Linked DNA regions of Homo sapiens: all the other regions are linked to region 1. The links are contacts of gene promoters, found by promoter capture Hi-C in blood cells and fetal thymus (Javierre and others, 2016). All regions are on one chromosome and are shown on one strand. Each heading gives the region's core, a stretch centred on a gene start or on the middle of the fragment in contact. The rest is flanking DNA. Distances are from core to core; before and after follow the strand shown.

What was found. Contacts are between HindIII fragments. The CHiCAGO score rates a contact against its expected background, and 5 or more counts as called.
Region 2: a contact is called between a fragment that was not itself captured here and the fragment with the promoter of IL1A in region 1, in 1 of 17 cell types (neutrophils). The highest score is 6.1, in neutrophils.
Region 3: a fragment that was not itself captured here is called in contact with the fragment with the promoter of IL1A in region 1 in 2 of 17 cell types (neutrophils and monocytes); the score reaches 10.4 in neutrophils.
Region 4: a fragment that was not itself captured here is called in contact with the fragment with the promoter of IL1A in region 1 in 1 of 17 cell types (monocytes); the score reaches 5.0 in monocytes.
Region 5: a fragment that was not itself captured here is called in contact with the fragment with the promoter of IL1A in region 1 in 10 of 17 cell types (megakaryocytes, endothelial precursors, M0 macrophages and 7 more); the score reaches 11.9 in megakaryocytes.

The regions. Positions count from the first base shown.
Region 1 is chr2:112,782,116-112,786,683 of GRCh38, reverse strand. IL1A (interleukin 1 alpha) reads left to right here and starts at 2,191. Exons shown (of 7, transcript NM_000575.5): 1 at 2,191-2,241; 2 at 2,906-2,960; 3 at 3,920-3,968. The coding sequence starts at 2,914. The HindIII fragment of the contact is 4,198 bases long and covers 758-4,568 here.
Region 2 is chr2:112,571,847-112,576,414 of GRCh38, reverse strand. POLR1B (RNA polymerase I subunit B) reads right to left here. Exons shown (of 15, transcript NM_019014.6): 13 at 3,657-3,853; 14 at 2,600-2,853; 15 at 1-1,568. The coding sequence ends at 686. Among named protein-coding and RNA genes, the nearest start is that of CHCHD5, 10 kb to the left of the region's middle. The HindIII fragment of the contact is 4,253 bases long and covers 1-4,179 here.
Region 3 is chr2:112,593,042-112,597,609 of GRCh38, reverse strand. No RefSeq gene overlaps it. Among named protein-coding and RNA genes, the nearest start is that of CHCHD5, 11 kb to the right of the region's middle. The HindIII fragment of the contact is 7,050 bases long and covers 1-4,568 here.
Region 4 is chr2:112,631,736-112,636,303 of GRCh38, reverse strand. LOC107985934 (a long non-coding RNA gene) reads right to left here and starts at 3,010. Exons shown (of 2, transcript XR_001739642.2): 1 at 1-3,010. The HindIII fragment of the contact is 3,990 bases long and covers 631-4,568 here.
Region 5 is chr2:112,927,987-112,932,554 of GRCh38, reverse strand. No RefSeq gene overlaps it. Among named protein-coding and RNA genes, the nearest start is that of IL37, 19 kb to the right of the region's middle. The HindIII fragment of the contact is 3,948 bases long and covers 632-4,568 here.

The sequences.
Region 1 (4,568 bases), core at 942-3,441:
ATCTACCCAGTAGAGCCCTGCCCAGTACGTTCCACTGTCCCTTCCCTAGAAGAGGTGACTGTTGTTCACAGTCCCAGAAAAGCGGGCTCCCCAAAACAATGCAAGGACCCACCTCTCTCTGAACCTCACCCACCCTAGTTTTCCTTTAAAAATCAATTTACAAGAAGATCATGTGAAGGAAAAGGTTGGGTGATATTCTAACCCAAGTTAGCTGTTTCTCAACCAAGTTCTCTTTGAAAAATTCAACAACCACCTTTGGGGAATTATTTACAACAGAGGAGTGAGGATGGGACCAGGATAGGTATTGCCTATGTTGGTGGAACCAGGGTTTTTTTCCTGGATTACCAAAGAGATGGTATGCATTGCTCCCAGAAGCTAAATATCTTCAGGCTTTCAATGGTGGCCTTCACCTGAAAATGTTATCCCTGTTGAAGCTTTCAAGCCAGTATTTTCATAAGAACTATATTTTCTTTGGTGAACTGAGGCATTATAATGATGACTATACAGGTTCTTGAGTGACTGAAGCCATCATTAGCATTGTCATTATTTTTGTTTAGTTGCATCTCCATAGCAGCTCACATTCACAATGTGCTTTGCAATTGTTCCTTAGCAATAGCCCTCACAAGATTCTCAGGAGGAGAGGGTTAATCAGGATTAACATTTCTGTGTTGCCTAAAGAGGAACCAAGGTAAGCAGAAATGTAGCCAGTTGGCTGGCATCACTGTTGCTTCAGGATTCATCCTTAGACACCCAAGCTTCTACCCTAGTCTGGTGCTACACTTACATTGCTTACATCCAAGTGTGGTTATTTCTGTGGCTCCTGTTATAACTATTATAGCACCAGGTCTATGACCAGGAGAATTAGACTGGCATTAAATCAGAATAAGAGATTTTGCACCTGCAATAGACCTTATGACACCTAACCAACCCCATTATTTACAATTAAACAGGAACAGAGGGAATACTTTATCCAACTCACACAAGCTGCTTTCCTCCCAGATCCATGCTTTTTTGCGTTTATTATTTTTTAGAGATGGGGGCTTCACTATGTTGCCCACACTGGACTAAAACTCTGGGCCTCAAGTGATTGTCCTGCCTCAGCCTCCTGAATAGCTGGGACTACAGGGGCATGCCATCACACCTAGTTCATTTCCTCTATTTAAAATATACATGGCTTAAACTCCAACTGGGAACCCAAAACATTCATTTGCTAAGAGTCTGGTGTTCTACCACCTGAACTAGGCTGGCCACAGGAATTATAAAAGCTGAGAAATTCTTTAATAATAGTAACCAGGCAACACCATTGAAGGCTCATATGTAAAAATCCATGCCTTCCTTTCTCCCAATCTCCATTCCCAAACTTAGCCACTGGCTTCTGGCTGAGGCCTTACGCATACCTCCCGGGGCTTGCACACACCTTCTTCTACAGAAGACACACCTTGGGCATATCCTACAGAAGACCAGGCTTCTCTCTGGTCCTTGGTAGAGGGCTACTTTACTGTAACAGGGCCAGGGTGGAGAGTTCTCTCCTGAAGCTCCATCCCCTCTATAGGAAATGTGTTGACAATATTCAGAAGAGTAAGAGGATCAAGACTTCTTTGTGCTCAAATACCACTGTTCTCTTCTCTACCCTGCCCTAACCAGGAGCTTGTCACCCCAAACTCTGAGGTGATTTATGCCTTAATCAAGCAAACTTCCCTCTTCAGAAAAGATGGCTCATTTTCCCTCAAAAGTTGCCAGGAGCTGCCAAGTATTCTGCCAATTCACCCTGGAGCACAATCAACAAATTCAGCCAGAACACAACTACAGCTACTATTAGAACTATTATTATTAATAAATTCCTCTCCAAATCTAGCCCCTTGACTTCGGATTTCACGATTTCTCCCTTCCTCCTAGAAACTTGATAAGTTTCCCGCGCTTCCCTTTTTCTAAGACTACATGTTTGTCATCTTATAAAGCAAAGGGGTGAATAAATGAACCAAATCAATAACTTCTGGAATATCTGCAAACAACAATAATATCAGCTATGCCATCTTTCACTATTTTAGCCAGTATCGAGTTGAATGAACATAGAAAAATACAAAACTGAATTCTTCCCTGTAAATTCCCCGTTTTGACGACGCACTTGTAGCCACGTAGCCACGCCTACTTAAGACAATTACAAAAGGCGAAGAAGACTGACTCAGGCTTAAGCTGCCAGCCAGAGAGGGAGTCATTTCATTGGCGTTTGAGTCAGCAAAGGTATTGTCCTCACATCTCTGGCTATTAAAGTATTTTCTGTTGTTGTTTTTCTCTTTGGCTGTTTTCTCTCACATTGCCTTCTCTAAAGCTACAGCCTCTCCTTTCTTTTCTTGTCCCTCCCTGGTTTGGTATGTGACCTAGAATTACAGTCAGATTTCAGAAAATGATTCTCTCATTTTGCTGATAAGGACTGATTCGTTATACTGAGGGACAGCAGAACTAGTTTCCTATGAGGGCATGGGTGAATACAACTGAGGCTTCTCATGGGAGGGAATCTCTACTATCCAAAATTATTAGGAGAAAATTGAAAATTTCCAACTCTGTCTCTCTCTTACCTCTGTGTAAGGCAAATACCTTATTCTTGTGGTGTTTTTGTAACCTCTTCAAACTTTCATTGATTGAATGCCTGTTCTGGCAATACATTAGGTTGGGCACATAAGGAATACCAACATAAATAAAACATTCTAAAAGAAGTTTACGATCTAATAAAGGAGACAGGTACATAGCAAACTAATTCAAAGGAGCTAGAAGATGGAGAAAATGCTGAATGTGGACTAAGTCATTCAACAAAGTTTTCAGGAAGCACAAAGAGGAGGGGCTCCCCTCACAGATATCTGGATTAGAGGCTGGCTGAGCTGATGGTGGCTGGTGTTCTCTGTTGCAGAAGTCAAGATGGCCAAAGTTCCAGACATGTTTGAAGACCTGAAGAACTGTTACAGGTAAGGAATAAGATTTATCTCTTGTGATTTAATGAGGGTTTCAAGGCTCACCAGAATCCAGCTAGGCATAACAGTGGCCAGCATGGGGGCAGGCCGGCAGAGGTTGTAGAGATGTGTACTAGTCCTGAAGTCAGAGCAGGTTCAGAGAAGACCCAGAAAAACTAAGCATTCAGCATGTTAAACTGAGATTACATTGGCAGGGAGACCGCCATTTTAGAAAAATTATTTTTGAGGTCTGCTGAGCCCTACATGAATATCAGCATCAACTTAGACACAGCCTCTGTTGAGATCACATGCCCTGATATAAGAATGGGTTTTACTGGTCCATTCTCAGGAAAACTTGATCTCATTCAGGAACAGGAAATGGCTCCACAGCAAGCTGGGCATGTGAACTCACATATGCAGGCAAATCTCACTCAGATGTAGAAGAAAGGTAAATGAACACAAAGATAAAATTACGGAACATATTAAACTAACATGATGTTTCCATTATCTGTAGTAAATACTAACACAAACTAGGCTGTCAAAATTTTGCCTGGATATTTTACTAAGTATAAATTATGAAATCTGTTTTAGTGAATACATGAAAGTAATGTGTAACATATAATCTATTTGGTTAAAATAAAAAGGAAGTGCTTCAAAACCTTTCTTTTCTCTAAAGGAGCTTAACATTCTTCCCTGAACTTCAATTAAAGCTCTTCAATTTGTTAGCCAAGTCCAATTTTTACAGATAAAGCACAGGTAAAGCTCAAAGCCTGTCTTGATGACTACTAATTCCAGATTAGTAAGATATGAATTACTCTACCTATGTGTATGTGTAGAAGTCCTTAAATTTCAAAGATGACAGTAATGGCCATGTGTATGTGTGTGACCCACAACTATCATGGTCATTAAAGTACATTGGCCAGAGACCACACTGAAATAACAACAATTACATTCTCATCATCTTATTTTGACAGTGAAAATGAAGAAGACAGTTCCTCCATTGATCATCTGTCTCTGAATCAGGTAAGCAAATGACTGTAATTCTCATGGGACTGCTATTCTTACACAGTGGTTTCTTCATCCAAAGAGAACAGCAATGACTTGAATCTTCAATACTTTTGTTTTACCCTCACTAGAGGTCCAGAGACCTGTCTTTCATTATAAGTGAGACCAGCTGCCTCTCTAAACTAATAGTTGATGTGCATTGGCTTCTCCCAGAACAGAGCAGAACCATCCCAAATCCCTGAGAACTGGAGTCTCCTGGGGCAGGCTTCATCAGGATGTTAGTTATGCCATCCTGAGAAAGGCCCCGCAGGCCGCTTCACCAGGTGTCTGTCTCCTAACGTGATGTGTTGTGGTTGTCTTCTCTGACACCAGCATCAGAGGTTAGAGAAAGTCTCCAAACATGAAGCTGAGAGAGAGGAAGCAAGCCAGTTGAAAGTGAGAAGTCTACAGCCACTCATCAATCTGTGTTATTGTGTTTGGAGACCACAAATAGACACTATAAGTACTGCCTAGTATGTCTTCAGTACTGGCTTTAAAAGCTGTCCCCAAAGGAGTATTTCTAAAATATTTTGAGCATTGTTAAGCAGATTTTTAACCTCCTGAGAGGGAACTAATTGG
Region 2 (4,568 bases), core at 804-3,303, 210 kb after region 1:
TGCACTTAAAGATTTGTTAAGAGGGTAGGTCTTGAGTTAAGTGTTCTTACCACAGAAGACAAAACAAAAACTCAACAGCAACCAAAAAGCAAAAAACAAAGGGGCAGGAGGAAACTTGTGGAGATGACAGGTATGTTTATTACCCTGATTGTGGTGATGGTATCAAAGGTGTGTGCATATAGTCAGACCCATCAAATTGTATTCATTAAATATGTAACAACTGTACTTCTATAAAGCTGGTAAAAAACACTGTACCTGTTTGTTTTTACTTCAACGTGGCTATAAGAAAATATAAAATTACATTACAGCTTGCATTCTATTTGTATAGTACTGTCCTGCTCAAGATGGATTAACAGGTGTGTGACACTCACTGCCTGCTGAGAGCAGGGTGTAGGGAACCTGGGGTTGGAAAGGAGACTTGTCACCGTATGCTCTTCCATTTATCAATATTTCATATTTTGAGAAGACATGAACTTTTTGAACAAAGATAACAGAAAATCATTGTCAATAGTTAATCTACCAGAGAGATTCAGAAACCTTGCATACTTGGTTTTCAGGTCTTGGTTGAGAGTTCTAACACCGTTGAAAAATCTCAAGAGTAACCTGGTAATGATATCTTCATTGAATTAAAATTACATTTTGCTTTAATCTGATAGTCCTCTTAATCCAAAAGGTCAACATCAAGTTAAACAACATCCAGTTTCACTTTGATGTTCATAGCTGCCAGTTCAGCTACAAAATACCGAAAAACATAAGGCACAGAAACAGTATCGATAGTGTCACTGCGACTACACAGAGTACAGTTGTATTTTCTGTTGCGCATGGCAGACCAAGAAGGGGGTGGCTTCTCCAACAGTGGAGAGAGTAAACTGCCACACTTCACACACACATGGGCTACCGACCGATCTGAGCAGTTGAAGAGGCGGTCATGAAGGAGAAAAGATGTACCATGAGCTAAAAGCGCATCCCGTTCCATCTCCCCAAAACGGATTCCACCCTGGACATTTCTTCCCCCAATAGGCTGGTTGGTGACTCTGTCTCGGGCTCCAGTTGTCCTTACTTGAAATTTGTCTGAGACCATATGGCGTAAGCGCTGATAATAAACCACTCCTATGAAGATGTCTGCTTCCAGTTCTAGCCCACTGATGCCACTATATAACCTCTCGGTGCCATAGAAATTGTAGCCAGCAGCCTTTAACATCTCACCAAAGTATTCTAAGGCCGAGTTCTCCTCTGAGAAGATGAAGGGTGTAGCATCATGGCAGAGACCATGCAAAGCTGCAGACTTCCCGGCCATACTCTCAATTAACATCCCAATGGTCATGCGGGATGGAAAACCATGGGGATTGAACAGAATGTCTGGGACCATCCCACTCTCAGTAAAAGGCATGTCCTCAGCCGGCCACAATCTGCTTAAAATGCCCTTCTGCCCATGGCGACTGGCAAATTTATCTCCGATAGTTGGGTTCCGAGGCACTCTCATAGTGATGCAAACACACTTGAATTTTCCACTCCCAGTGTCATTACTGCACACTTTGATGTTATCCACAACACAATTTTCTTTACTCCTAGGAAAAAGTAAACCATATAAGGTCAACCTATTTGTTTTAACTTATGGAGATAAGTTTCATTGATATAATTAGTGCTTCATAAAGGATATTTGTAAAACTTTTTTTTTTTTTTTTTTTTTTATGATACAGGGTCTCACTCTGTTGCCCAGGCTGGAGTGCGGTGGTGCAATTACAGCTCACTGCAGCCTTGACTTTCCGGGTTCAAGCAATCCTCCCACCTCAGCCTCCTGAGTAGCTGGGACTACAGGTATATGCCACTAGGCCTGGCTAGTCTTTAAATTTTTTTTGTAGAGATAGGGCCCCACTACATTGCCCAGACTGATCATGAACTCCTGTGCTTAAGGAATCCTCCTGTTTTGGTCTCCCAAAGTGTTGGGATTGCAGGTGTGAACTACTGTGCCTGGCCTGCAAAACTCATTCTTACCTTTATTCTCCAATACAAACAGAGATGGTATGAATAGAGCTATTGGTGATATTCACTACAGAATTATGTTCATCTGAAAGAAAACTAGCAACAAAAGCAACTGAAAAATTATTATGAAAGCCTATTGAAATAAATTATATTGTAAAATAAGCTAAAATAAGACATTTCTAATAAGAGGTATGAGCTCAACATTTTGGCTAGGAAACATTGCTAACATTGTATGTGAGAAAGATGACAAAGTTTGGATAATACAGTTTTTAAAAAAAGCACAAATAGGCCAGGGATGGTGGCTCAGGCCTGTAATCCTAGCACTTTGGGAGGCTGAAGCAGGTGGATCACTTGAGCCCAGGAGTTCGAGACCTACCTGGGCAACATGGTGAAACCGTCTATACTAAAAATACAAAAAATTAGCTGGGCATGGTGGTCCATGCCTGGAGTCCCAGCTACTCAAAGGCTGAGGCGAGAGGATTGCTTGAGCCCGGGAGGTGGTGGTTGTAGTGAGCTGAGATCACTCCACTGCACTCCAGCCCGGCTGACACACTGAGACCCTGTCTCAAAACAAAAACAAAAACAAAAACAAAACAGCTTGGATACCCAAACTTACTTATAGTACATCACAAAACTTTCCCCGGTGTTGAGGTTGAGGTAGCTGTAATACGGATCTCCGTACTGCAGTTTTGCTCCTATAAACGGCAATCCATCGTCATCTAACTTCTGCAGAACGCGTGGGTCACCAGGTTTGATGCCAAACACCAGGCTACTATCTCCTTGTTTAATTTTTTCAGAGAGGTCTATGAACTCAGACTTGTAGACACTTCCATGGGCAAAGCCTCGTTCCCAAGAGGCCTTATTCACAATCTGTGAAGTAAAAGAATCGTTAAAAGACTGAGGCCAATTGAGGATTTTCAAAATAAAACTAGGTGGGACTATCATACTTGGTTTAGGATAACTGGCATCACATTTTAACTTTCCTCACATTTTCCAAATCACTGATACTAACTACAAAAACCCAGACATGGCTGGGCACGGTGGCTCACGCCTGTAATTCCAGCACTTTGGGAGGCCAAGGCAGGTGGATCACTTGAGGTCAGGAGTTCGAGACCAGCCTGGCCAACATGGTGAAACCCCATCTCTACTAAAAACACGAAAATTAGCCAGGCATGGTGATGGGTGCCTGTAGTCCCAGCTATTCGAGAGGCTGAGGCAGGAGAACTGCTTGAACCCAGAAGGTGGAGGTTGCAGTGAGCCAAGATCGTGCCACTGCACTCCAGCCTGGGCAACAGAGCGAGACTCCGTCTCAAAAATAAAAAACAAAAAACAAACAAACAAAAAACAAGAAAAACAAAAACCCAGGCACACAGAAATAGCTTAAAATCTAATCATACTTAAATATAAAAGGTAGATAGATCCAAAACCAAACTTCAAAATTTACTCATAATATGCACTCAAATATGCAAGACATACGTGTATCTGAATATTTAGTGGATATTCCTCAAGGCTTGCCCACTTTCAACTTAGACTAAGAACTAATCATTTAATAGAACATCACGTGCCAAATACTAGGTACTTGGGTACACAAAAATATTCCTTCAGTGATTTCACAGTAAACAAACAAGTTAAAAAATAAAAAGATTGGAACAACATTTCCTGGTAAAACTTACCATGGCATCTTCCATATCATAGCCAGTGTAAGAAATCACAGCAACGATGGCATTGGTCCCAATTGGATAGTTATCCATGTCATAATAATCATACATGGAGGGTCTCACCAAGGGACTCTGAGGAGTCTGAAGACGATACAGTTTGTTATCCGATCGGTCTTGATAAGTGAGAAGTGGAAAGCCCATAGTTTGCTTACCTACATGGAGAAAAAACATCTTAGCATTTTCTGCTGCTTTCATCTTGATTATAGGTGTGATACGCAACACTGGAAACAACTAAATATCCATCAGAGGAAAATGAACAAATAAATAGTCATGGTAGTTATGCTTACTTTAGACTAATACATAAGCTGTGAAAATGAAGTAAACCTAAATGTATCAACGTGACCAGACCAGGAAAACCATGCTGAGTGGGAGAAAGTGCAGACTGACATTTAATATGATACGATTTATGTGTATTTGCAACACACCCCAAACAATTCTATACTTAGTTTATGGATACATGTATGATGTAATAAAAGCTTTAGAAGGGGACAGAAAGGAAGTACGCAAATTACAGGCTATCACTACTCGGGGAAGAAAAGGGGATAGGAATTATTACGTAATTAGATTACTTTCTTACAGCGGAATATGTATTTAATTCTAAGTAGTGGAGCATGGGGTGAGATTCCTCTGTGTACTACCTCACAGTACAGAGAATCATTTCACGACAAAATGATTTTAAAATATAAATACATACAAGTGAAATTTTTAAAAAAATTATAGACTTAGAGCTTCCAGTAATAAAGGGCTACTCTTACTAGACCACCCTCAACACATAAGTATGAGACGCAGACCCCCAACTACACATACAGCACTGGAGAGTAACCAAAAGCTGTCAGAAGCTGAGAAGAATTTTTACTTGGACAAAAG
Region 3 (4,568 bases), core at 970-3,469, 190 kb after region 1:
CCCGGACTGAATGAGCATCATCCTCTAAGGCCATTCCCACAACGTAGAGATGAAACACAAAATGCAAAGCTACAAGATGCATGCCATTTAAAACTTCCGCCCAGATGTGGCATATGTCACATCTTTTCACCTCTCATTGGCTAACACAAGTCTCACCAGCCAGCCCTGGCTATGGGTCAGAGAAGTACCCTTCTCCAACAGAGTATGTGATGAAGGTGGAGGTGGGAATGTTTAACATTGACACAGGGAAAGAGTTGATAACTCTTTATGTGATTATTATCTACTAAACGGTTCCACTTTTTTTTTTTTTAATTATTTTTGAGACAGAGTTTCGCTCTTGTCACCCAGGCTAGAGTACAATGGCATGATCTCGGCTCACTGCAACCTCTGCCTCCCGGGTTCAAGTGATTCTCCTGCCTCGGCCTCCCAAGTAGCTGGGATCACAGGCATGTGCCACGACGCCCAGCTAAGTTAATACAAACATGGTCATCATGTTGGACAGCCTGGTCTCGAAATCCCATTTATTTATTTATTTATTTATTTATTTATTTATTTATGAGATGGAGTCTCGTTCTGTAGCCCAGGCTGGAGTACAGTGGCATGATCTTGGCTCAATGCAACCTCTGCCTCCTGGGTTCAAGCGATTCTCCTGCCTCAGCCTCCCGAGTAGCTGGGATTATACGCATGTACCACCATGCCCAGCTAATTTTTGTATTTTTTAGTAGAGATAGGGTTTCACCATGTTGGCCAGGCTGGTCTCAAACTCCTGACCTCAAGTGATCCATTTGCCTCAGCCTCCCAAAGTGCTGGGATTACAGGCACGAGCCATCGCCCCCGGCACACAAGCCTTGCTTCAAGGTGATTCCACTTGGTATGTGATTCTCCTCCATAAACACAGGTTATAAAGTGTTCCCTCTATGAACTGAGATTCTCTCTCTGACTTTGATCTAATATAGACAAGTAGAATGAAAACATGGTCTGGCTGACACTTCCACTTCTGGCATCTCTCCAAACTGAGGTGGCCTTGATACCTAAGAAAGCCCCATGCTGATGGCAGCCCAAGGGGAGCAAGGTCAGGGAAGGCCTCTCCCTGTTAGGAAGGACATTCACATAATTTTCTTCCTGTGCACAGTGTGAGTCTCAAAAAAAAAAAAAAGACTCTCACTCTGTCGCCCACGCTGGAGTGCAGTGGCGTCGTGATCCCGGCTCACTGCAACCTCTGCCTCCTGGGCTCAAGCAATCCTGCTACCTCAGCCTCCCGCATAGCCGGGATTACAGGCACCTGCCACCATGCCCAGCTAATTTTTGTTTTTTTAGTACAGACGGGGTTTCACCATGTTGGCCAAGCTGGTCTTGAACTCCTGACCTTAAACAATCAGCCTACCTTGGCCTCCCAAAGTGCTGGGATTGCAGACGTAAGCCACCATGCCCAGCCTGAATTGATAAATTCTTGAGAGATGGGAAACGGCATTCTTTAATGAGAATTTTGGATATAGGGGACACTAATAGAAACTAACAAAGTGCTTTCATAAAATTCCCAGATGCTCAAAGAAAATTTAAAAGTCGAGTTAAGATCCATAAAATATGCATGCCCAGGCTGGGCGCGGTGGCTCACGCCTGTAATCCCAACATTTTGGGAGGCTGAGGCAGGTGGATCACGAGGTCAGGAGATTGAGACCATCCTGGCCAACATGGTGAAACCCCATCTGTACTAAAAATACAAAAATTAGCTGGGCGTGGTGGCGCGTGCCTGTGGTCCTAGCTACTCAGGAGGCTGAGGCAGGAGAATCGCTTGAACTCGGGAGGTGGAGGTTGCAGTGAGCTGAGATTGCGCCACTGCACTCCAGCCTGGGCAACAGAATGAGACTCCACCTCAAAAAAAAAAAAAAGTGCACGCCCACAACTGAGTAAAAGACAGGACTGTGATCAGGAAGTGCAGAAAATGTTAAATTTTAATGTCAGGGGTTAATTTAGAAAACATTGGCAAGTGTTTTCTCCTTTTATCATACCTTCCCCCTTTCTCATCTTTGCTGCAGATAAGGTCAAGTTCAGGGACTGCAGGACTTAAGGGGTAGGAGGTAATTCCTTCAAAACAAAAATGAAGGCAGGGTGTGGTGGCTCACGCCTGGAATCCCAGCACTTTGGGAGGCAGACGAGGGCAGATCACTTGAGGTTAGGAGTTCTAGACCAGCCTGGCCAACATATTGAAACCCCATCTCTACTAAAAATACAAAAAAATTAGCTGGGTGTGGCGGTGCATGTCTATAATCCCAGCTACTCAGGAGGTTGAGGCAGGAGTAATGCTTGAACCCGGGAGACGGTCCTCGCAGTGAGCCAAGACCATGCCATTGCACTCCAGCCTGGGCCATAGAGTGATTCTGTCTCAGAAAAAAAAAAAAAAAAAGATGAAAAGAAAACCCTTCTTTTCTCCTGCTTTGCATCTGCAATGGTGCAGGAATCCACAGATGTAACTAGACGTAACTGATGAATTGCAAGAAGTTAGAAGCCTGAAGAATGCAGCCGACATGAAAGGCTTTTATTCATACAGGTGATGTGATCTAAATGACTGACTGCATATTTAGAAAATAGGAAGAGTGTGAGGGACGGCAGCAAGGGTGAAGAATCGCCCCTCACCAGACAAGACTACAACAAAATTAACTGAGTCCTCATTTCAGCTTTAAAATAAACAAAAGGGGCTGGGCATGGTGGTTCACTCCTGTAATCCCAGCACTTTGGGAGGCCAAGGCAGGCAGATTTCTTGAGCTCAGGAGTTAGAGAACAGCCTGGACAATATGGTGAAACCCCATCTCTACTAAAAAGACAAAAATTAGCTGGGCATGCGTGCCTGTAGTCTCATCTACTCAGGAGGCTGAGGTGGGAGGATCATCTGAGCCCAGGAGGTGGAGGTGGCAGTGAGCCGAGATCACATCACTGCACTCCAGCCTGGTCAACAGAGTGAGACCCCATCTCATAAATAAATAAACAAACAAATAAATAAAATGAACAAAAGGGGAACTGTATACCCAAACTATAAAACAAAAATTAAAAAAAAATGAAAAGGGGAATTGTAAATCCAGGCTTAAGATGGAGTGAGGCCTTCTAAGAAAAAGAACAGCAACAACAATAACAATACCAAACCTTCTGCAGGGGCAGAGTGCAAAGAAATGGTGGTGAGAATGACAAGCTGGGGAAAATAATGCCTGCTGCAATTCCGGACACATTGGGACTTAGTGCTCCCTTTGAGACATCTATATGAAGGTCCATGGCAGCAGGTGGAAGCCCAAGGCAGAAGCCAGGGCTGGAGATAACCATCTGTGAACCAATGACTTATCTGATATTCTCTAGGAAGGAGATCACTGCACAGAGGAGAGAATAAGAAGAGGCCTGGTGTAAGCCTTGAAGAAAATCATTATGTCACGGCTGGGTGGGAGAAGGTGGTGGCATAGCCAGAGAGCTAGGAGGAAACCTGCAGAGTCCATGTAAAGATGAAAGAAGAGTAGAAATGTGGAGGGCCATTAAAAAATTATTCTGACAGTTGTTAAAACAGTATAGAAAATTGTACTCAAGACGACTGTCCCTGTCTCACTTCCCACTGCCCTAGTAATGCTTACTGGGATCAACCTCTAATTCTCTGTCCCAGGGTCTGTTTCTGGGGGAACCTGAGCTAAGACGGTGCATCATGAACCAAGGATTATGATTCAAGCACATATGGCACATTAACAAAAGCTGAGCATATGCCAAGCCATAAAGGCTCGACACATTTCAAAAGATTAAAATCATATAAAATGTTCCCAACCCAATTGCAATTAAGCAAGATACCTAAAAAAAAAAAACCTCCTTATGTTTAGAAATTAAGAAATACGACTCTAAACTTCTAAACAATCTGAGGTCAATGGAGAAATCAAAAGAGAGTAGAGAAGGGAAAATAAGGAACAAAAGGAGGATTGAAAGACAAAGACATCCAAGGAGCAGGACTACTATAGGCAGAGATGGCAAGAAGGAAACGTGACTATTGGCTAAGTTACAACAATGCATTCATGGGTTTTTGTTGTTATTATAGTTATTTTATCTTCTATTTTGAAGAATGATTTGTTATTTCTTCACAGTTATGGGACAAGTCAAATTATATATCTTGAAAAAAAAAAAAACAAAGTCACGCTTTGTGGCAAATTTAAGTGTATTAGAAAAGAAAGCCGGACACGGTGGCTCACGCCTGTAATCCCAGCATTTTGAGAGGCTGAGGCGGGTGGATCATGAGGTCAGGAGATCGAGACCATCCTGGCTAACATGGTGAAACCCCGTCTCTACTAAAAATACAAAAAATTAGCCGGGCGTGGTGGCGGGCGCCTGTAATCCCAGCTACTCGGGAGGCTGAGGCAGGAGAACGGCATGAACCCGGGAGGCAGAGGTTACAGTGAGCCAAGATCACGCCACTGCACTCTAGCCTGGGCAACAGAGCACAACTCTGTCTCAAAAAAAACAAAAAAACAAAAACAAAAAAAGAAAAAAGGCTGAAAACCAGTGAGCTAAACATTCATTTCAAAAAGGTAGAAACAGACAATTAAATC
Region 4 (4,568 bases), core at 1,376-3,875, 150 kb after region 1:
GTCCTCAGCAAATTCAGCACTTCCTTCTCACTGTCTCCTTCCCTTTTGCCTCCAAACATCTATGCCTTCCTTTTTCTTCCTACCCATCACTTCCACTGCCTGTTCCCTGAGATAGCAGTCTCTACCAGTCCACCTTCCTTCCCCTGCACCTGCTCTCCTCTACCCTGAAAGGTATTGCCCGTTTCCGCACCCCTGCTGAAAATCTTGTTGCCCCTTAGCTTCAGACGCCCCAGCCTCTTCTCAGCACTCTTTCTGAAACCTCTGCAATTGGTAATGCTAATAGAGCACTTCCCTAGGACTGTCTTCTCCCCTGACACCTGTGTACACCCCACCTCTCCAGTTCCACAACAATTTCCTTTTTCCTTATCCCCAGTATCTGTCCCTCCACATTTTTTTCGGGGTTTCACCGAATCCATCCCTGCCCTAAATCATCACCTCCACATGCACTTTTCCACCAGGCCTCCATGTCCTGCCCCATAGCTCTCAATGTAAGCTGCATATCTCTTCTGTTAAATATAACATTTAAACCAAAATGTCTCAGCTTCTCACCTCCCACCCTGAGCAACCTCCCTCTCATGATTCCCCTGCTTCAATAACCAGAGCTGCACCTCTCTTACATACTCTGAAGCTTCAAGCCTGGTGTCCTTTGAATCCAACTTCCACACGGCATCAGTCTTTACATCCTCTGAGATTTCTCCCAAAGCAGTGCCTCTCCTGAATCAGAGCTCCCCACTCTGCCACCTTTTCCAGATTATTGATTCCTGGGTGGCCCAGTCCTGTACACTCTCCCCATGTGCCTTCATCATCACTCCCTTACGCAGACACCTCTCGGGGCCCTCTGTTTGTGGAATGGGGCCCAGCCATGCAGATTTTCTCCAGTCCATACCCTCGTGTCCTTCCCCACTGGGGAACCTCCCTCTCCCATGCTCATCCCAGGGCTGACTTCCCCCAGGCCGTGTGCACCTCACCTCTATGCACCCCTTTATCATCTGTGGGAGAAGATCTCTTCTCTAAATTCAACTCAGAAATGCAGATGACTGCCCCATGCATTGGGTCTGCCATTGTCCTCCCTCTTTGCCTGTATACTTGTTTTGTTTTCCCAGCAAAATCAGAAGCTCCTGGAGCGCCTTTGCATTTCTTCATGCCCTGCTAAGGTGGGGTTGGTAAATTCATAAACTCAGGGGCAAGGCCAGAATGCATATACAACAGGTAGACAAGAAGGACGGTGTTGGCCGCACAAAACCCATCTATAGATTGAATGGACCCGTGGGCCGCACCAGTTTGAGATCCTTAGCCAGGTGCCTGGCCCTGTCAGTGAGTCCATGAATCCTTTGTGGTGGATGCCCCAGAGGCAGCAGTCAGTCCCCAGCGTCCGGCAGACTGTTGGAGTGGGTGACCTGATTTCCCTGGCCTGGTGTAGAAGGAGCAGCCTGCCTCAGCAGGCACAGAGGTGTCAGCTTCTCACTCCGTGGGCTGTGCTGCACCTGAAGTCAGGTGCTGCCACAAGGCTCTGGTTTCCTGTGAGATCTAACCAGCGGTCGCTTTTCTCACTCATATACTAAGGAAAGAGTGGGCCTGCCCTTCCTCCACTCATGACCCACTCAAAGCTGCCCAGACCAAGTTTACCTGGAGTTTGTGCGGGTGATTTTGGCTGGGCAGCACCTTTATGCTCTGAAGCATTTGGGAGATGGGGATAGGGGTGGAGACAGAAGGACAAGAGGAGAAAGGCAGAGAGCAAGATGCAGGGGGAACGACGCCCTGGAAACCGGGGCCCTATTTTCACTCCTGTGGCCTGCCTTCCACCCCTACCCCTCCCACTGCCCCAGGCTAAGTCCACACGGCAGCCCTTGACACCTCTCAGGTGCTTCCCAGCCTCCAGTCTCACTCCACCCCACCCAAGCTACACAGGCGGTGAGACTCAGCCGCTGAACCGTGAGTTTCACAAAGCCTTTCCCCATGACCACTGCCTGCAAAACAAACTCCAGACCGCTCTGTCTGGCTGGAGCTTTCCATGACAGGGCCCTTCACTGTCTGTCCAGCTTTATTTTCCTCTGTTTCACCACGGGAAGAATGTATTCTGCCCGGTCCGGCTTGTCACCACCATACCTTAGAACGTTAACTTCTTCAGGAATGTGAGCTGCTCCCAAGTCTGTCCCCGCATTCTCCTCCTGGTAGCAAGCCTGGGGAATGGCATAGTTACCCTAATTCCACAGATGAGGAGAAAGGGGTCAAAGAGTTCAGGTGCTTCTCAAGACCACAGCACGACAAGCAGGAGAGCTAGTCTCAACGCAGGCCCTTTTTGCTCCACAGTTCAGGGTCTTCCCACGTAACTTTACTTAAAGGAAAATTGTAAGCTCCTGAGAATGTGGGCTAGGCCGTACTTGTTTTGTTTGTAAATGTGTACATGGGTGTCTTGGTTCATTCAGGCTGCTGTAACAGAGGACTATAGACCAGGTGGCCTGTAAGCAACAGAAATTCATTTCTCACAGGGAGGCTGGGAAGTCCAAGATCAAAACGCCAGCAGAATCAATGTGTGATGAGGGCCTGCTTTCTGGTTCATAGACAGCTGGCTTCTCACTGTGTCCTCAGATGAAGGAAGGGGAGAGGAAGCTCTCTGGTGGTCTCTTTTATAAGGGCACTAATCCCATTCATGAGGTCTCCACCCTCATGACTGCATCACCTCCCAAAGGCCGCACCTCCAAATGTTATCACATTGGGAATTAGGTATCAACACGAATTTGAGGGAGAGTTTTTTGTTACCTTTTTTTTTTTTAGATGGCGTTTCACTCTTGTTGCCCAGGCTGGAGTGCAATGGCACGATCTCAGCTCACTGCAGCCTCCACCTTCCAGGTTCAAGCGATTCTCCTGCCTCAGCCCCCCCGAGTAGCTGGGATTATAGGTGCGTGCCACCACACCCGGCTAATTTTTTGTATTTTTAGTAGAGACAGGGGTTTCACCATGTTGGCCAGGCTGGTCTTGAACTCCTGACCTCAGGTGATCCGCCTGCCTCGGCCTCCCAAAGTGCTGGGATTACAGGAGTGAGCCACTGTGCCCGGCCACAAACATTCTATCTAGTGACATTTTATCTATTGCTCATGGGTTACAACTACAATATGTAACAAAACAGAGCTAGGTAAATAATTAAGAGGAACAGTCATGCATTTTCTTTGGTTTGGTTTTGTTTCTTCTTCTTCTTTTTTTTGAGACACTCTTGCTCTGTCGCCCAGGCTGGAGTGTAGTGGCACTATCTCTGCTCACTACAACCTCCTCCTCCCAGGTTCAAGTGATTCTCCTGCCTCAGCCTCCCAAGCAGCTGGGACTGCAGGCATGTGCAACCATGCCCGGCTTATTTATTTATTTATTTTTTTGAGTTGGATCCTCGCTCTGTCACCCAAGCTGGACTGCAATGGCGTGATCTCGGCTTACTGCAACCCCTGCCTCCTGGGTTCAAGTAATTCTCATGCCTCAGTCTCCCTAGCAGCTATGATTACAGGCACTTGCCACCACCTTCAGCCTATTTTCTTAATTTCTTACTTTTTTTTTTTTTTGAGACAGAGTCTCGCTCTGTCACCCAGGCTGGAGTGCAGTGGTGTGATCTTGGCTCGCTGCAACCTCCGCCTCCTAGATTCAAGTGATTCTCCTGCGTCAGCCTCCCAAGTAGCTGGGACTATTAATTTCTTAAGTGGTGGCCAGGCGCGATGGCTCATGCCTATAATCCCAGCACTTTGGGAAGCCGAGGTGGGCGAATCACAAGGTCAGAAAATCGAGACCATCCTGGCCAACATGGTAAAACCCCATCTCTACTAAAAATACAAAAATTAGCTGGGTGTGGTGGTGCACCTCTGTAGTCCCAGCTACTCAGGAGAGTAGGACTCTCCAGCTGAGGCAGGAGAATCGCTTGAACCCGGGAGGCAGAGGCTGCAGCTAGCTGAGATCATGCCACTGCACTCCAGCCTGGGTGACAGAGTGAGACTCTGTCTCAAACAAACAAACAAAAAAATTTATTAAGTGGTGACGTTTCTACACAAAGTGAAGGGATAACCGAGTTCTGTAATTGAATTACATCACTGCTCCCTGCCCTTCTGCTCCACCGCGGTGTACCCTGGCCTGCCTTTCCCCGCTGTGGCTCCAGAGCCAGTGGTGACCCCCTGCCCAGGCAACAACAAGGAAGAGATGGGCACCTCTAGACCCCAAGATGCAAAAGTTCCTCTCCTCCCATTCACACACTCTTTTTGGCCAGCATTTCCCTGGCCGGGATCCCTCCAGCAGCTCAGTTGAAGAGCTAGCCACCTAAAAAAGATTTGCATTACAGTACAGTGTGACAAGAGCCATCGTAGAGCTGTGCACACAATATCGCTGGGGTACCAGGTGGAGTCTGGGGAATCTTTGTGAGTTAGGGATGGGTATGTTAAAGGAGTGAAGGAAAGATATAAAGTACTGAACAGGAAAGCTGCAAAGAGCAGGCCCTAGGAGCTTGAAGTCCATCATCGTCAGTAAGCCCCGCCTTGGCTTCTGTTTCTTAATGAGGCCAGACTCTCTCAGTCTGCAGATCAGAGCAAACAGAAGCC
Region 5 (4,568 bases), core at 1,356-3,855, 150 kb before region 1:
CACACTTACGTTTCTTTTCAAGACAGCCTTTGTGTACCATGTGTGAGGCTTCCATGGGACCAGCCCTAGAAGTTTCTTTTTTTTTTTTTTTTTTTTTTTTTTTTTGAGACGGAGTCTCACTCTGTTGCCCAGGCTGGAGTGCAGTGGCACAATCTGGGCTCACTTCAAGATCCACATCCCGGGTTCACGCCATTCTTCTGCCTCAGCCTCCCTAGTAGCTGGGACTACAGGCACCCGCCACCATGCCCGGCTAATTTTTTTTTGTAGTTTTAGTAGAGACGGGGTTTCACAATGTTAGCCAGGATTGTCTCGATCTCCTGACCTTGTGATCCGCCCACCTCAGCCTCCCAAAGTGCTGGGATTACAGACGTGAGCCACTGCGCCCGGGCTAGAAGTTTCTTAAAGGACCTATAAAACATGCCCTTAAATCGTTCTGAGTTCTTACAATTTCCCACATTACATCAGGCGAGTTTTGCTAAACTTCCCACCACTACATACCAAGCATCATTTTTTCCTCTAGCTTCCCCTACTGTTTTCCTCACTATGCTTCAACCCTCCCTAAAAGTTTCCTTGAGGCCTGCCAAGCTCCCCTGCCACTCAGACCCAAAACCAAAGTCACGTGTCTTAAGCTTTCATTGCTGTAGCACCTCACCCCTGGTACCAAATTCTGTTCCAGTAATCTGGAACAAATCAGCCCAAAGCCTAGTGGATTATTTTGCTCATAATTCTGCAGTTTGGGCAGGGCTAAGCTGAGATGGTTTACTCTGTTCCACATTGCTCAACTGGGGCTGGAGTATACAGTACTAAGTGGTTCACTCGCCTGGTGACAAGTTGCTACTGTTTGTCAGCTAGGAGCACAGCTAGGGCTGTATGTAAGACCCCAATTTATCACCATGTGGGCCTCTTAAGGGGGCAGCTTAGAATTTCTCACTGTATGATGGATGGGTTGCAAGAACAAGTATTCCAAGGGACAGAAATAAAAGTTGCCAGTTCCTTAAGGCTGGAAGAGGCTGGAAATGATTACAGCATCATTTCCACTACATTCTATTGGTCAAGCCATCACAGAGCCACCCCAGAGTCAAGTGGACCAAAGAACCACACGAATGGAACTGGCCACCCAGGGAATCAAGACAGCAGTCACACACATTGAAGAAAGTGAGGCTTGTTCCTCCTACCACTACTGCAGGTGGACTTTTCATGGCCTCAGACTATCAGCATTCCAATACAAATGCTGCCTGTATCCCAACCCTGGACCAAAGGATCTGCAGCCATCTTTAATCTGTCCCATCAATGAAGCTATTAGCTGATTGCTTATTGCCATCATAATTTCATATCTATCCACTCCCATTTTATTATTCCCAATGATGCAAGAGTCTCAGGTATCATTGTGCTAGAAGACATGCCAGAACTCCAGGCATCCACTCACAGCTGTCAACACTGTACGTCCCTGAACCAGGTATGTGGTCCTCACCCTCAGATTACTAGAATACCTCTCTGGGCTGTGGCATCAGTAATTTTGCCCTTTCCCATCCTCTAGCCCAAGCCTAAATTGTCTTCCTTAGCTATGGACATGCAAGGCTGGGGAGATGAAATAGCATCATTGACTTGGCCAGGCTGTGTTTTCAACTACTAGGATCTCCTTCTAATAGCTTTTCTAACTTTCCAAATTTTATCCTCGATACCTACTCTGAACAACTTGCTCCAAGGTACAAGAGTAGACTTTTTCTCCCAGGAGGGCTTGCACCAGAAATCAATGAGTTATTAGTGATGTAGACAGAGGGAGAAAATGGAGCATGAGAGTATAATACCTTGGTGCATTGTGGTAGGGTACCACTGGTATCATTTGCTCCTCTATTCCAAGGGCTGGGATGACTGATATTAAAAGCAAATAGAGAATTTGTCTTAGGAAAGTGTTTTTGGAACCCATTGCTTTGGACTATCTTTGTTTGATAGAGATTGATGCCAAATGTTTGAATATAGCATTTCTTTAGGTGGACTTGTGGATATCACTTGAGTGCATACCATCTGAAGGTCTGCTGTGCATTTCATCAGGCCTGTGACCAATTATGTTTTGTGACTGAGTATCAGTCACCTAGATGTCTCCAAGTCCTGCAGGCTTAGGGTCATCCTGTTTGGAATTTTCTTTTTTTTTTTTTTTTGACACAGTCTCGCTCTGGATTGCAGTGGTGCGATCTCGGCCCACTGCAACCTCCACCTCCCAGGTTCAAGCGATTCTCCTGCCTCAGCCTCCCGAGTAGCTGGGAATAAAGGCACGCACCACCATGCCCAGCTAATTTTTGTATTTTTAGTGGAGACACGGTTTCACCGTGTTGGCCAGGATGGTCTCAATCTCTTGACCTTGTGATCCGCCCTCCTCAGCCTCCCAAAGTGTGGGATTACAGGCATGAGCCACCGCGCCCAGCCCCTGTTTGTAATTTTTAAGTAGAAATTTACTTGAACCCCTATCCAACATATGGTGGAAAACCTGGTTTGCTCTACCCTATTTCCTAACACCTGAGGAGTACCTCTCATGTCACTAATTTCTTTTATCTCCTGACCTTTCTGTCATGGCTCACATATTTCAATTGTTTCCTGTGTTGGTGCCAACTGACCCAGAACTCCCAACACACACACACACACACACACACACACACACACACAAAGCATCATCACAAAACATTTGTATCAGCCCAGTAATTCCTCAAACCTGGCTTTAGAAACACCTGGAGGACTTTTAAACATCCTAATGCCAAGCCTGCTCCCTGGATATTTCAATGTCAGCCATGCCTGAGAATCTGTCAACTAGCCCAGTGCTTCTCAAATGCGAGTGTGTGTGAGAATCACCTGGGGAGCTTGTTAAAATGCAGGCTCTGTTTCTGGGTCCCGGGTAGGGCTCTAGATTCTGCATCTCTAACAAGTTCTCAAGTGATGCTGATGCCGCTGATCCCCAGACCACACTTTGACTAGCAAAGAGCTATCAGATATGAGGGATGACAGGGGCCCAGCAAATAATTACAACTAAACATCAGACACATCAGTGACACCACTATCAGGAACTTCTCAGAGGCCATCCTGCTCCCCCAGTTCCAGCTCCAGGGCCCCCTCTCATTTCTCATTTCCCTTGGCTTCTACCTATTCCCAGGACCTTGTCTTTCTAGGGATGTCATGGCCACTATATATTTATTTAGTTATTTAATTTATTTCTGAGACAGAGTCTCTTTCTGTCACCCAGGCTAGAGTGCAGTGGCACAGTCATGGCTCAATGTATCCTTACCTTCCTGGGCTCAAGTGATCCTCCTACCTCAGCCTGCCAGGTAGCTGGGACTACAGGTGCATGCCACCACATGTGGTTAATTTTTTTTTTTCTTTTTTTTTTTGTAGAGGTCTTGTTGTTTCCCAGGCTGATCTCAAACCCCTGGCCTCAAGCAATCCTCCCACTTCAGCCTCCCAAAGCACTAGGATTACAGACATGAGTCACTACACTCTGCCAGGCTGGCATGTCTTTATCGGGCAGCTCAATCTAGTTCCCTCTGTCTCCAAGCACATCCCGGTCCCACTCTAAGAGCTGTCTTGCCACACCTAAATGCACCATCAAAAGGATTTGCTGATCCCAAGGCAGTACTGTGCCCAAGGAATGCTACCTCCAGCTTCTAAAGCAGAGGTTCCCAAAATCTCTCAGTTCATGGTATCCTTCGTGTCCCAGGAATTTCTTCACCGAGTACTTTAAGCCAAAAGAAACACCTGATGGTTCTGCTTCTCTCTCTCTCTCTCATTTTTTTTTTTTTGAGATGTAGTCTCACTATCACCCAAGCTGGAGTGCAGTGGCACGATTTTGGCTCACTACAACCTCCGCTTCCCAGGTTCAAGCAATTCTCCTGCCTCAGCCTCCTGAGTAGCTGGGGTTACAGGTGCATGCCACCATGCATGGCTAATTTTTATATTTTTAGTAGAGACGGGGTTTCACTATGTTGGTCAGGCTGGTCTCGAACTCCTGACCTCGTGATCTGCCCGCCTCGGCCTCCCAAAGTGCTGGGATTACAGATGTGAGCCACCGTGCCTGGCCAGTTCTGCTTCTTAAGCAATTGGGTTGAGACAATTTAATGCCAACGGTTTTCACGGGCCTGACAGATGTCACTGTGTTTTCTTCAGAATATTTAAATATCCCATGACACCTCGTGAGTGTGCTGAGGTGCCCTACAGTCCACACTTTGGGAACCATGGCTCAAAACTAATAGTTGGTATATATGGTACCTCCAAATGCCCTAGCAAGGTAATAGAAACCCATAGTGATGATTGTACGTGATGCAAATGGGGGACTGAATCTGACGGGAGAGGAGGGGATTTCAGGGAGGTGCTGTCCCACCACCAGCACCAACTGGATCTGGCACAAACAGGCCAACATTACTCTCTGTTGTAGCCAAGAGAGTCACTTTCTAGATTCATCTCTCAGTGGAAGTTCCAAAGGGTTCTGGGATTAGAATAGTATAAGAGAGAAAGTAAGGGCAGAAAGATAGTTTGTCTCTTGGTAAAAACTTGTAAACATGACTCATCTAATATCAGAAAATCTA